Regions from separate parts of the Homo sapiens genome. Here regions 1 and 3 are each linked to region 2. The links are contacts of gene promoters, found by promoter capture Hi-C in blood cells and fetal thymus (Javierre and others, 2016). All regions are on one chromosome and are shown on one strand. The core of a region is centred on a gene start or on the middle of the fragment in contact, and the rest is flanking DNA. Distances in the headings are between cores, read along the strand shown.

Region 1 (4,915 bases), core at 8-2,507, 150 kb before region 2:
ATAGAACAAAATTTAATTTAGAAAAACAGCCCCTAAGAGTTGAAGGCAAATGAAAATGGAAGTTAATTGCTTATTAAGTTGGTGGCACAACTTTTCAGACAAGCTTAAGGCACAGTGATTCCAATGTACATTGCCTATAGACTATAACCTAAAGACAAAAAGGAATTAAAAAGAAAATTCATAAACTTTATTGGTATCCATATGTGCTAGTGATGTTGCTATTCTGAGACCATTTTGTGTGTTTTGTGGAATAAAGCAAATAAGTAATGATGTTGGTGTTATTGGGAACCAGGAATTTTAGCATAGGAGAAAGGTGATACAGATGTAAGTTCAATTAGGTTTCAGTTGTTTACCGATGATCCCAGGGTAACCAAATATTTGAGGAAGAGATTTTTTTAATAGACATATCCAATCAAGGACTGAAGAGGAAATGAAAGAATATCACATTTTGCAAACCATAATTGATGTATTAATGAATCTAGGCAATAGTCATCCATTACTGTCAACATTTGAAAAGAAGACATTTAGATAAGTGTTCCTGATGGAAGTACACAATACCACCCATGAAGTCATTATACCCCAATAATCCAACCTGAATCTAATAAGCTTCTAATAATTTCCCATCAATATAGGAGGATCAAAGAATATGTTAAGTGGCACAAATGGGATGCAATCAGCAAAATTCAGACAATAGAAAACATAATAGGACAAACTATCATTTACTTAAAAAATCTATCTATCTTTCTATCTATCTATCATCTATCTATCTAATCTATCTATGGAAAAAGAAAAAAGGTAGAGGGGGAACGTACAGAATAAAATAGACTTAAGAGACCTGTTGCAATTATGAACTTTATTTGGATTCTGATTTCTACAAACAAATTATAAAAAATAAATTATTAAAACATTTGTGAGACAACTGGGGGAATTTGAATGCTGGTTGGATAGTTGATGATAAAATGCACATATTTATATTTTAAGTGTGATAATGGCATCACATTTAAAATGGGTTTAGGTTTTCTTTTTAATAATCCTTATCTTTAGTGCTGCAAATAATACTACAAATAAAGTGATATGATTCTGGCATTTCCTTTAAAATGTTGGGTGTGAGGAGGATAGGTAGGGAAGAATATAGATGAACAAGATTATCCATACACTGAAAATTACTGAACTGGATGATGGGTATACTATATTCTGGTATATGTTTGAATTAGTCCATGATAAGTAGAACAAGAAATAATCATCCCCATACAGCATGGGCACACCCGAAAGCATGGGCATCCCCACAGCATGGGCACACCCAAAGCCTGGGCTAGGACCTGATCATCATGAGTGTGCTTTAGCAGTAGTGAACAATCACAGTCTGCTCATCTATGCAGGGCTGCTCTTCAACAGTGCTGAACCACGTTGAACAATCATGTGGCACAGATGCACTAGCCAGGGTCCAGCTCCTACCCAGTTGGAGTTTTGGAAGCTGGACTGATAGACTTGGGATTGAGTTAGGTTCCTGGTGTTCTTGAATAAATTGAGGAGTAGGAAAAACCTCCAGAATGATATCCTGAAATTTCATCTAACAAGAAACAGTGGTGGCTCCAAAGTAAATTGGCATAAAAAAGAGATGAGTCTCTATTTTGTAAATGTAGACTTAGTAAAACAGTTATACTGGTTAAATGAGATTCACATCATGAATAGATTTTAATTCTGTAAATCCTATGTTGATTTTTCTCCTATTACAAAACATGTTTTCTAAAACTTCTGAAAATCTACATTTCAATACTGATTAATTCAAGAGATAAAATAATTTTTATATATGCAATATATGTAGTTACTATTTAAACAAGAATTGAGTTGGCTTCATGTGCTAACCAAAGAGCTTTTCATTGCTTTTAGGATCATATCTAAGCTTCTTAACACAATCTAATAAGCCATTCATCCCTTCTATCCCACCACACCATATTCCAGCTTCATTTTTCGTTCTTTCAGTTTGTTAACCTTCTTTAATGCCTGAGATATCTTGCACTTAGGATTCTCTCTTCCCCAAAGCCCTTTCCCTATACTCCCACCCCATCGTTGTCCTGATCAAGTTCTACTTGTAACTAGGGACCAGATTAAATGTCTCCCAATGATGTCTTCACTGATAATTCAGAGTAGAATGGTACCCCTGATAAATTTCAGTAGCATCCTGCCCTTCACCTTTTGTAAAACTTCCATCTATGATTATGTAAGTATTTGTCCCTGTTTTGGTTACTGTTCATCTCTGTGACTAGAATGAATGAATGTTACATGAGACTGGAACAACTCCTGTCTTGTTTTCTGCTCCGTCCCAGCACTTAGAGTAGGCTACCTTGTTACCTAATAAATATTTGCTGAATTAATGAATGAAATCCTCATAGTGTTTTCCTTACTGAAAATCCTAAAGCTGTTTTCTCATATTTGGCGACCTACACTTGAGATATTTATCAAGATTTGTTCTATTTAAATTCTTAGCTCATCATTGACAAAAGCCAGATTTCTTTAATCTACTGTTTTGCTCCATCTAGTGACAATGTTTTAATCAAAATGTCTATTGTGTGAGTACTATTTTCAGTTTTAAGTGAAATGAGAAAGGAAACAGAACATTTTTGCCATTTTGTAGACAGGAATGACAAACAATGAGATTGTCAGATATTTAAATACAGATGTGTTGGCTCCAAATTTAAACTTACTGCTTGCAGCCTCCTAGCCCATCAATTATACTAGCATTTTCCTATTGTAGGCCAAGATTATCAGCTACTTGTAGATTTGTAGAACAACTTGGTTATTCTTTCTCTAAAAAACCCTCTTTAAAATTACATGAACACAACATGTTTTTGAATGTTGAATGATCAAGAGACCTAAAGAAACAAGAAGAATAATCTCCAAAGTGTTCACCACCCAGAGATACACTTGGTTTGTATATATTTTTGTTGTTTGTAATTTTAATGAAATTTCCATTACTCAGTGCCTGGACAAGGTCTGTAGTTTGATCTATATAATTTATACTCTTTTAATCTCCACAAAATGGATCCTATTTTATATACTGTCTGTAAGGTAATATTTTCTTTATGCTAAATATATCACAACTATGTGGTCTGGTAGGCAAGGAAAATCCACCTTTTATTTCTAGGAATGAAAGGTTTTGTGGTGTGTTCCTTAGAATATGCTTCCTGTGGACACTCAGTGAGTGCCTGTTGGCTGAGTCATGCCTGACTGCTGCTTTGTTTTCTTAAATAACATGAAACCTTGAAAACAAACTTACCAGTAACTATGATGGTTAATAAGTGACATACGGGACTGCTGTTTGTGGAAACATGAAAATTTAATTGTTCCTACCCTTGAGCTGACTGATTCCTCAGTGAATTCAGTGGAACTCATCTTAACATTATTATCTAAAATTCATTAGTCCTCAGTGTCTAATGTGTTCAAAAGTATAAGGTTTTATACTCTAAATTTTCTCTTGGAATGTGTCAGTACTAAAACTTCCCTATAAGTTTATTTATAATCCTTTAGTCTTAAATCTGTACTCTCATAGCGTGCCAGGCCGTATAACATCTTGTTATAATTATTTCACTGGACTTGCGAGGGACATTCCATCCAAACCTGCCACTTGGTTTGGAGTTAAGCATAAACAAACCAAATCTATTTTTACGTTCAACAATACTAAGAGGTCCCACTGCTTATCACATTATGATATGGAGGTCTAAATTCCCCAAGCCAAAACAAAATAAAACAACAATAGCAACAACAATTTGTCCCCTCTCTCAGTGGCCTTAAGTATCCCAAGTTGCTGTGGCTCTTCCATTTCATTATTTATGTATGTTGTTATTTGTTGGCTCAACATTCCAGCATCCTTCCCATAAGCTTATCTTCTCCCACTTCCCAAAACCACACGACTCAGAAGTAAACACATACTCTTATAAGAACACCCAGCACTTTGAGAGGCGGAGGTGGGTGGATCGCCTGAAGTCAGGAATTCGAGACCAGCCTGACCAACATGGTGAAACCCCGTCTCTCCAAAATACAAAAAAAATTAGCCGGGCCTGGTGGCACATGCCTGTAATCCCAGCTACCTGGGAGGGTGAGGCAGGAGAATTGCTTGAACCTGGGAGGCGGAGGTTGCAGTGAGCCAAGATTGCACCATTGCACTCCAGCCTGGGCAACAGAGCAAAACTCCATCTCAAAAAAAAAAAGAAAAGAAAGAAAGAACATGATGGCTTACATTGTATAATCAGTATGTAATTACAGGAATGTAGAAGACGCACATAGAAAATCACAAGGATAAATCTCAAAAGCGAGTTCATTAATTCTTAAATCTTGTTTATTCCTAACCTTTGAACTCTGGCCACAACTTTTTGAAAATATACCTTTCTGGTTTTAACCCACATCTTCTTAATGTTTTCTGCATTTTTTATTAGACCCAAATCTCTAAAGTAAATGGTCAGTGGAAACTACAGATATTTTCCAGGCACTGAGTAATGGAAATTTCATTACAATTACATATTGGCACATCATGCATTTTAATTGCTTCCACAGTTCACAGAGACAATGCATATGTAAACACCCACTCAAATCCTAGAAGCTTCAGAATATTTCTTTTTGTGATCTGATGGTACTTGTGGTTGCCATAGAAAGGAGAAAGCAGGAATGTACTATCAGAATTTAAAGTTCCTTTTCATGATATTCTGCTTACATTCTTCTGCCTACCTTGCCAGATTGCTGTCAACAAATGCTAATCACCAATCATGGAAGAATTGCTTGACTAATACGAAAGGAAGCATGGTTTGCCCAGTGTGGGCTCCCTACACTCAAAGCATTGGCTACACTGCAGACAGAAACTGTACAGAAGTGGATGGCATGCTAACAGAGATGAGAAATGACAACTGACATCTAACAACAA
Region 2 (4,500 bases), core at 1,069-3,568:
CTTTCCTTTGTATATAAAACCAGTTAAATTAAGTCAAAAACATGTTTAAAACTATATGGATTAAACAAAGGGACTGGTTCTACAATCTGCAATGAACATTTTTTTTTCCTGCTTTCCAGGCCCCATGGCATCCAGCACAACCAGCGAGAGACAGATAGATGGATGATAGATAGATAGATAGATAGATAGATAGATAGATAGACAGATAGATAGATGATTGATTGACACATGATACATAGAATGGCCAGATGCATACATATAAACATACATCTATGTATCAAGCATATATACATTTGATATATATGGATAATTGGTACTGTTGTCACTGAACAATAATATCTTCCAACTGTATCCACCAACATAACTTGAGAGGTTATTTTTATAATTTGGATAATTGGATATAGTTTTATAATTGGATCAGATTGTCTGACACAGATGATTTCCTGAGAGGCCACCACCCTATCTCCTGGAATAAGAACCTCCACAGAGATATTGGTGAGCCTGTATTGCAGATTTCCTCTCCTGAAAAAAACCTAAAAGCTCAAGTGTGTAGGGCCAAGAGCCACAAAATTACTAGGCTGTGGCCAACAAACCACTTTTGCAATACCCAGACACTAGGTTCAGTCAACATTCTTTCTCATCAGGAGCACTAATAGTGTAATTTGTGACTTAAAAGAAAGTGAATTCTCTGAGTCAGTGACTATTACCTAATTGCTTGAAGGATTTTTTCCAGACAGGTGGTCTGGAAACCTTTTACCTATTACCTTCCATCCCTGAACCATTTCAATCTTCTGCCTCCTGGATATCTTGGAGAAAATGAACCAACACAACACAGCTTTCAGTTTTTAGAGCATTTCCCCCATACAGAACATTGTCTTACTTGATCTTCCCGATGACCTCAACAACAGGAAAGGCAGGTCCTTTCATTTCCATTTATAAGACGCACAGACCCAGGATTATCTAGCCACAGGAAGCAGGACTCCAGATTTCAAGTCCAGCATCTCAACGTGACAACCTTGGTAACTCTGCATGAACGGACTGGATAGTAAAGTGGAATTATTACTGAGAACTGCAATGAATAAAATCTTTTGCATTTTTTGCCTACGTTTCACAGAGGGTGATATTTTTCTGAGGCAATTAAATTTATACCACGGCCACAATACTGAAACGTTCTGACCAACAAAGTCATGCTCCTGCATCTACACAGCAGATAACTGCAGAAACGGCTTCCTTTCTTCCTTGTAAAATTGCCTGAAAACAGCTCCCCCTTGCTGTCCGTCGAGGCATATCTTCACCAACGTTAAAACAGAGCTGAGGGAGATCGCATTTCTGCCTCCCTCCCGCCCTGCAGAGGGGCTCCAGCTGTTCAGAGTAACGGATTACTAGGTAGGTGGTTGTTTCCCCTCCTTCCCAGGGCCTCTTTCCTCTCTTTGAGATTGCCTCTTTCTTACTCCTGAGCACAGGAGCCGGGCGGGTTTTCTGTCCCTTGCCCTGGACAGCACTGCCTGGATGGCCGCTGTCCGGCAGCTGCTCTTTGTCCACCCAAAAAGATGTCCCCACGACTCAGTAGTAACCAGACGGTCCCCACGGACCACTGCGGCCAAATTTCCGCCATCCCCGCTGTGGGAATCAGGCTTTTCCCGCAGAAAACCCCAGGAATCTAGAGAAAACTCCTTAAGTCCCTAGTCTCCATAGAGAAAACCAGGAGACACTCCCCCCAAACCCCGCTGTGAATACAGGCACAGCAGCCACTGGGGCTGCAAAGTGATGAGTGCGTTCTTCCCGTCGCAAACATAGGGTAATAAATAGCATGCATCAAAGACGTTACTAGGAAGAGATAGCTCTTTAAGTCACGAGCGGGGAGAAATGTTTGCCCCGGGAAAATTTGCCTGGGGAATAAAATTTGCCAGACTGCTGCACGGGTGAGCTCGGTGAGAAGGAAGAAACCCGGACTGGAGGAGGTGAGGTCGAGAGCCAGGTTCAGGTGCAGGAGCTAGATGCGTGGACGCCGGTGCGTGGACTGGAGGTTTCCAGGTACCGCGCTTAGCGTGCCTGTTGAAGTCAAATGCATGGTTAAGGAGGCTAGCGAGGAAGGCTAGTGAGGGAAGCTTGTGGAAACGGCTACGAGCCCAGAAAAGGCATGACTCGTCCAGTTGTCCAAGTTTTTGGAAGGGAAAAGCGGGAAAGCGCCACGATCCCACCTACTGTGAGGAGGAATCTGCGAGTCTCCCAGCTCCACCCCCTCCACAGTGATGCAGAGGACAAACACCGACGTAGGGAGAGGAAAAAATAAAACTCCAGGGAGCGGGGAGTAGGCAACCAGCAGTCTTCCGGCAATAGGGCGGGAGGGAGCGCGTCCCAAGGAAACAAGCACCGCATAAATACTTGAGTTGGGAACCCAGTGCTTCCGGAAGCTCGGAGCTCACCTTCCCGACCTCGCCGAAGTTGAAAAAAGGCAGAGCAGGGAGAGGGGCCAGCTCACCCTGCTGAGAGCTGCTCAGTGGGCAGGCGGGACGCTGCTCCGGGAGACGCCCACTGGAGGGATCGCAGAGCCCGGCAAGCTGCGAGCGCGCCAAAGACCCTGCGCTTCGGACGAGGAGCCCAAGTCCTCCGAGACGGGGAGGGAGCGGCCCGCGAGGGCTGGAGCTCCGAAGAGGGCCGAGTAGGAGCTGCATGGACAGCATGCGTCTCTCCGCCGGTCCCGACGCGGGGCCCTCGGGCAACTCCAGCCCATGGTGGCCTCTGGCCACCGGCGCTGGCAACACAAGCCGGGAGGCCGAAGCCCTCGGGGAGGGCAACGGCCCACCGAGGGACGTGCGCAACGAGGAGCTGGCCAAACTGGAGATCGCCGTGCTGGCGGTGACTTTCGCGGTGGCCGTGCTGGGCAACAGCAGCGTACTGCTGGCTCTGCACCGGACGCCGCGCAAGACGTCCCGCATGCACCTCTTCATCCGACACCTCAGCCTGGCCGACCTGGCCGTGGCATTCTTCCAGGTGCTGCCGCAAATGTGCTGGGACATCACCTACCGCTTCCGCGGCCCCGACTGGCTGTGCCGCGTGGTGAAGCACCTGCAGGTGTTCGGCATGTTTGCGTCGGCCTACATGCTGGTAGTCATGACAGCCGACCGCTACATCGCGGTGTGCCACCCGCTCAAGACTCTGCAACAGCCCGCGCGCCGCTCGCGCCTCATGATCGCGGCCGCCTGGGTGCTGAGCTTCGTGCTGAGCACGCCGCAGTACTTCGTCTTCTCCATGATCGAGGTGAACAATGTCACCAAGGCCCGCGACTGCTGGGCCACCTTCATCCAGCCCTGGGGTTCTCGTGCCTACGTGACCTGGATGACGGGCGGCATCTTTGTGGCGCCCGTGGTCATCTTGGGTACCTGCTACGGCTTCATCTGCTACAACATCTGGTGCAACGTCCGCGGGAAGACGGCGTCGCGCCAGAGCAAGGGTGCAGAGCAAGCGGGTGTGGCCTTCCAAAAGGGGTTCCTGCTCGCACCCTGTGTCAGCAGCGTGAAGTCCATTTCCCGGGCCAAGATCCGCACGGTGAAGATGACTTTTGTGATCGTGACGGCTTACATCGTCTGCTGGGCGCCTTTCTTCATCATCCAGATGTGGTCTGTCTGGGATCCCATGTCCGTCTGGACCGGTACGTGCCGGGAAAATAGAGGAAAGTGCAGGGATAGGAGTGTGTGTGTGTGTGTGTGTGTGTGTGTGAGAGAGAGAGAGAGAGAGAGAGAGAGAAAAAAATGAGAATCTAGCAATTTTCTTCATAGTATCTTCTAGGGCAGTAGTTTTTAAACTTCTATGTGTACATAAGAGTCGCACCTTGGAGGAACACTGTTTAAAAAAAAAAAAAGCATATTCCTGGATTCCCCATGCAGACATTCTAATTAAGAATGTCTGGAATGGGGCTCAGGACTCTGCATTTGTAGTGTGCAATGATCCTAAGACCACAATTCCAGAAACTGTGTCCTAGAGTCAGCCAAGCAACTACAAAGCCGAAGAATGACTTTTGCTAAATCACTAGCTACTGTATTAACACCATTTCAGGTCTATTGGATTCAGGGAAATATTTTTACTGTCACAACTGCTTTTTGTTGGATTGTGAAAAGTATTACAATTAATTTTAAAAATGTGTAGAAATGCCTCAGGGGCAAGGATAGAAACAGATATATATTTCTAAAGAAAGCTGGAGAAAAATTCTTTAGAAGGTGAGTAATTCCAATTTGGCATTTAGCTAATAATGTTCCTTTCTCGTTATAATCTATTTTTTTCTAACAATGATTAATAGTTTTTTCTTGGTATTTCAAAGCAGAATTATTGATAAACTAAATTCATTAGACTAATTCATTAGTCTTTCACCACTCATTTGACCACACGGCTCTACATCTCTCCACCCAACTCTTACAGTAGTTTACTGGAAATGTTCTCTGCACCTACTATTGTGTTTGATTTTAATTCCTTCCCAAACTAGAAAAACTAACTTCACAGTGA
Region 3 (4,545 bases), core at 814-3,313, 160 kb before region 2:
GGTGGGGCACTTGGGCATGTCCACTGCATGTATGTGCTGTGCCCAACGGGCACATGAGGCAGGAAAGAACCACAGTCACCGCCCAAGCCCCAGGGCAGTCTTGGGGGCCAGGGGCCCCATGCAGCCATTTGGCCAGCATTTCCTGCTTGTCATTCCCTCCCATCATGTGTCCACAGAGTCTTCCCTCCCCTGGCGGAGAGCTCCAGCTCAGTCCAAACCAGAGGAAGGATACGGTGATTAAAGGAACCCATTTGCATAGAGCAAGAGGTTCTCCACGTGCCTCTGACACTTAAGCTGGTTTTTCTTTTTCCTTTTCTATGCAAGAGGGTGTTTTTTTCTACCTTACACTCTGCTTATGGCAGGGAAGCAATGGAGGAGCGACCCCACCAGCTGATAACTGCAAATTTGAAAAGCCCCATCTGTAACTTAATCTAAATGAATCCATGCACCCCCTGAGATACCTTTTTCCAAACTTGGTTCCAAGCTTTAGGTTGAAGCCCTAGAAAGGAAAACTAGATCTGAGTGATTCAAAGCCAGGCAACAGACATAGCATAGATGGGCAGGACTAATTCCTGCTGATTAAGTCCCCGCTTCATGATAGGAGGCCAAGCTCCATGGCATAGATGAGGCCCAGGGAACCCAAAGGTTGCCTACAGTAGGGAGGGTGGAGGCATAGGTGAGTGCAAATAAATCCTATTTTCCAGGCCCCCCGCCCCCTGCCCCCCCACCAAGTTTCATGGGTGCAGGTCACACCAGCACTCATGGGCAGCATCTGTCTAAGGTTGCCAGGACTCGGGGATGAAAAGATGAAAGGAAAAAGAGGTATGCCCTTTTTTGTTCTCTCCCTCACACCCTGGGTTTTTGCTGAAAGAGGGAAGGGAAATAAGGTATGCCTATTTCTCTCTCTTTCAGAGTGGGCAACCAACTATCCTTACCATCTTCAGTCCATACTCCTCTGGAGTGTATCCTGAATCTTTGGGACTGTTTTGACCCTCAGACCCTGGAGAAAAAATGCCTCATAGCCCTCTGCACAAAGGTTTGGACATATTATGATCTGCAGGAAGGACTGGCTTGGCCTCAGGAAGGAACCATTCATTTTGATACAATCTTTCAGTTGGACTTTTTCTGTAAACACAAAGGCAAATGGTCTGAGGCCCCATATGTGTAGGCTTTCTTTACCTTGCAGGGTAATACAGACCTTTGCCAACATGTAGGATTGATCCGGCTCTCCTGTTTGCCATCTCAGGAGAGGCTGCACGGGTCAATCTCAGGGAACTAAAAAATCAAACCCCAGAGAAACCTCCAGCAGGGGATCCAGCTCCCTCTAGCCCTGCTCCCCTGGATCCACCTTGGCCTCCCTATCCAGTTTCTCTCTTTAGCTTGCCTCCTCCTAGAAATCCTCACCCTAGACAAGGCCCAGTACCACTTATGCCCCTCCAACAGATGCCTGGTGAATTTGGCCCCAGTAAAATCCAGGTCCCCTTCTCTCTACAGGAATTAAGGCAAATTAAGGCGGATCTTGGCAAAGTTTTAGATGATCTTGACAGATATATAGAGGCTCTCCAGAATTTAACCAAAGTATTTGAACTCTCCTGGAAAGATGTTATGTTACTTTTGAATCAAACTCTGACTAATGCTGAGAAGCAGGCCACTCTGCAAGTGGCAGAGAGATTTGGGAATGAGCTTTGTATCTCATATAGTGTCAGGGAAGGGGACAAACTTTATCCAACTGGAAGAGAATCAGTACCACTGGATGACCCTAAATGGGATCCTAATGATGAGATGGGAGATGGAAGAGGAAACGCTTTCAGGTGTGCATAATGGGGGTGCTTACGTAGGACTAGAACTAAGCCTCACAATTATACCAAGCTATTCATGATAGATCAGGGATTTGATGAGAATCCCACTGCCTTCCTGGAAAGGCTAAGAGAGGCCTTGGTAAAGCACACTTCTCTAGCTCCTGATTCAGTTAAGGAACAACTAATCCTAAAAAATAAGTGTATTACTCAGGCAGCCCCTGATATCAGGAGGAAGCTACGGAAACAAGCTGTTGGACCAGATAGTACTTTAGAGAACTTCCTAAAAGTGGCCACCTCGGTCTTTTATAATAATATAATAATAGAGATAGGGAGGCCAAGGAGAGAGGGAGAAAGAGAGAGAGAAGGAGGGAGGGAGGGAGGGAGGGAGAGAGAGAGAGAATGAAGACACAGGAAAAATGCAGAGGCTTTAATGGTCACCATGCAAGACCACAAATCCCAAAATCCCTGAGGTGTACTTGTTAACTGCTTCAAATGTGGCAAGCCAGGGCATTTTAGGAAGGATTGCCCAGGCAGCATGAGAAAGCCACCTCAACCCTGTCCAATCTGCAATTGGGACCACTGGAAGGCAGACTGTCCCTAGGGATGCTGGTCACCAGGTTCAGAGCCAATCTCCCAAACAGTCCAACAGGACTGATGAGTCCCAGGGCTCCTCTTCCCCACCCTGGTGGTCCAGACTACTATTACCATCCAGGAGTCCTGGGTAATTCTGGAAATTGAAGGGAGGAAAGTGGATCTCCTTCTGGACACTGGGGTGGGTCTCTCAGTTCTCCTCTCCAATCCAGACTCCCTCTTCTCTCTTAGCATGACCTGTGAGGGGCATCTCAGAAAGGCCTTTAACTTGATATTTTTGTCAACCCCTTAGTTGTAGTTGGGGAAACCTATTGTTACTCATGCCTTTCTAATTGTGCCTGAAAGCCCAACTCCTCTTTTAGGCAGAGATATTCTGGCCCATATGGGGACCACCATCCTGATGGCCCCAGGACAAATTCTTTGTCTCTCCCTGGTGGAGACCTTTAACCCAGACATTTAGGCAATTCAAGCCAAAATCGGCCAAGTTACAACTGCCATACTGGTCCAGATCCACCTTAAGAATCTCACCCCCTTTCCTAACCAGAGACAGTATCCCTTGAAACCAGAAGTTAGGAAAGGACTAGAAGCCATCAATGATAACTTAAGGTTGCAGGGCCTCCTCAACAGGCCCTGGGACCAGAAGATTACACTAGTGCAGGATATTGGGGGCATTCTTGGGGGGATGGGAGACTGTCACTTGTATTTATTGTGACTCTAAATCTTTGATAGTAAAACAAATGTAAAAAAAAAAGTTTACCACCAAATGAGAATAGAAGTTTCAATAAACAGCCTGGATTGGGTGACTATACATTGTATCATAAGGAAGTTTTAGACTCTGAAGAATAGTAAAGAAATGGATGATGTGTCCAAAAATAAAAATAAAAAAACAGCCCTTGTAGTACCCCAATATTAAGGTACAAAAACCCAATGGGGAACGGAGACTAGTTCAGGACCTCCACCTCATTAACGAGGCTGTGGTTTTAATTCACCCAGTGACTCCCAATCAGTATTCCGTGCTAGCTCAAATACCTGAGGGAACTAAATAGTTCACAGTCCTGGACCTAAAGCATGCCTTCTGCATACCATTAAACCCTGACTCCCAGTACTTTTTTGCATTTGAAGATCCATCTAACCAAACCACCCAGCTAACCTGGACAGTGTTACCTCAGGGATTCCAAGACAGCCCCTGCTTATTTGGCCAGGCATTCTCAAAAGACCTCTTTGAGTTCCCTTATCCTCAGGTTAAAGCTTTACAATACGTAGATGACATTCTCCTCTGTGCCATAACTGAGGCAATCTCTCAGGAGGGCAGTAAGGGTCTTCTTAATTTTCTGGCTAACAGAGGATATAAGATTTCAAAGCCTAAAGCTCAGCTCTGTCAGACTTCAGTGAAGTACCTAGACCTGGTCTTTCAGAGAGGACCAAGGCATTGGGTGAAGAAAGGATTAAGCCCATCTTCTTTTTTCCCCTCTCCAAAACCCTCAAGCAACTGAGGGGATTCTTGGGCATTACAGGGTTCTGCAGACTATGGATACCTGGGTACAGTGAAATAGCTTGCCCCTTATGTCACCTAATATAGAAGACTCAGGCAGCTAAAGCTCACTCCCTAATTTGGAAACCAGAGGCTAGAAAGGCCTTTGACCAACTAAAATGAGCCTTGCTTAAGGTACCAGCCCTTAGTCTTCCCATAGGGAAGATGCTTAATCTTTATGTGTCAGAAAGGAAGGGATGGCCCTGGGAGTTCTAACTCAGACCTGGGGTTCAATCCAGCAGACTGTAGCCTACCTAAGTAAGGAGCTTGATTTGGTAGAAAAAGGATGCCTGGCCTGCCTCTGGGCAGTTGCAGTGGTAGCTTTGCTGGTACCAGAGGCTACTAGGTTAACCACGGGGAATAACTTAACCATTAATGTGGCAGGACTACTGTCTTCTAAGGGGAGTCTCTGGCTAATGGATAACCACCTCCTCAGATATCAAGCTCTGCTGTTAGAGGTATCTGCAGTCCACTTAAGAATCTGTCCCTTCCTAAATAGAGCCACCTTCCTCCCCAAGGAAGCAGGGGCGGAGAGCGGGGGGGGACCTTGAACATGACTGCAAACAGATAGTAGTACAAACCTATGCAGCCAGAAAGGACCTCAAGGAAACCCCCTTAGGGAAC

Evidence for each region. The method cuts DNA at HindIII sites, captures the fragments that hold promoters and counts their contacts. A CHiCAGO score of 5 or more calls a contact.
Region 1: a fragment that was not itself captured here is called in contact with the fragment with the promoter of AVPR1A in region 2 in 1 of 17 cell types (megakaryocytes); the score reaches 6.0 in megakaryocytes.
Region 3: a fragment that was not itself captured here is called in contact with the fragment with the promoter of AVPR1A in region 2 in 1 of 17 cell types (megakaryocytes); the score reaches 5.3 in megakaryocytes.

The regions. Positions count from the first base shown.
Region 1 is chr12:63,292,752-63,297,666 of GRCh38, reverse strand. It overlaps LINC03056 (long intergenic non-protein coding RNA 3056), which reads left to right. Exons shown (of 2, transcript XR_007063345.1): 2 at 4,731-4,915. Among named protein-coding and RNA genes, the nearest start is that of LINC03056, 79 kb to the left of the region's middle. The HindIII fragment of the contact is 1,297 bases long and covers 609-1,905 here.
Region 2 is chr12:63,149,019-63,153,518 of GRCh38, reverse strand. AVPR1A (arginine vasopressin receptor 1A) reads left to right here and starts at 2,318. Exons shown (of 2, transcript NM_000706.5): 1 at 2,318-3,652. The coding sequence starts at 2,683. The HindIII fragment of the contact is 3,248 bases long and covers 2,111-4,500 here.
Region 3 is chr12:63,313,087-63,317,631 of GRCh38, reverse strand. All of the region lies in intron 1 of LINC03056 (long intergenic non-protein coding RNA 3056), which reads left to right. Among named protein-coding and RNA genes, the nearest start is that of LINC03056, 58 kb to the left of the region's middle. The HindIII fragment of the contact is 3,154 bases long and covers 487-3,640 here.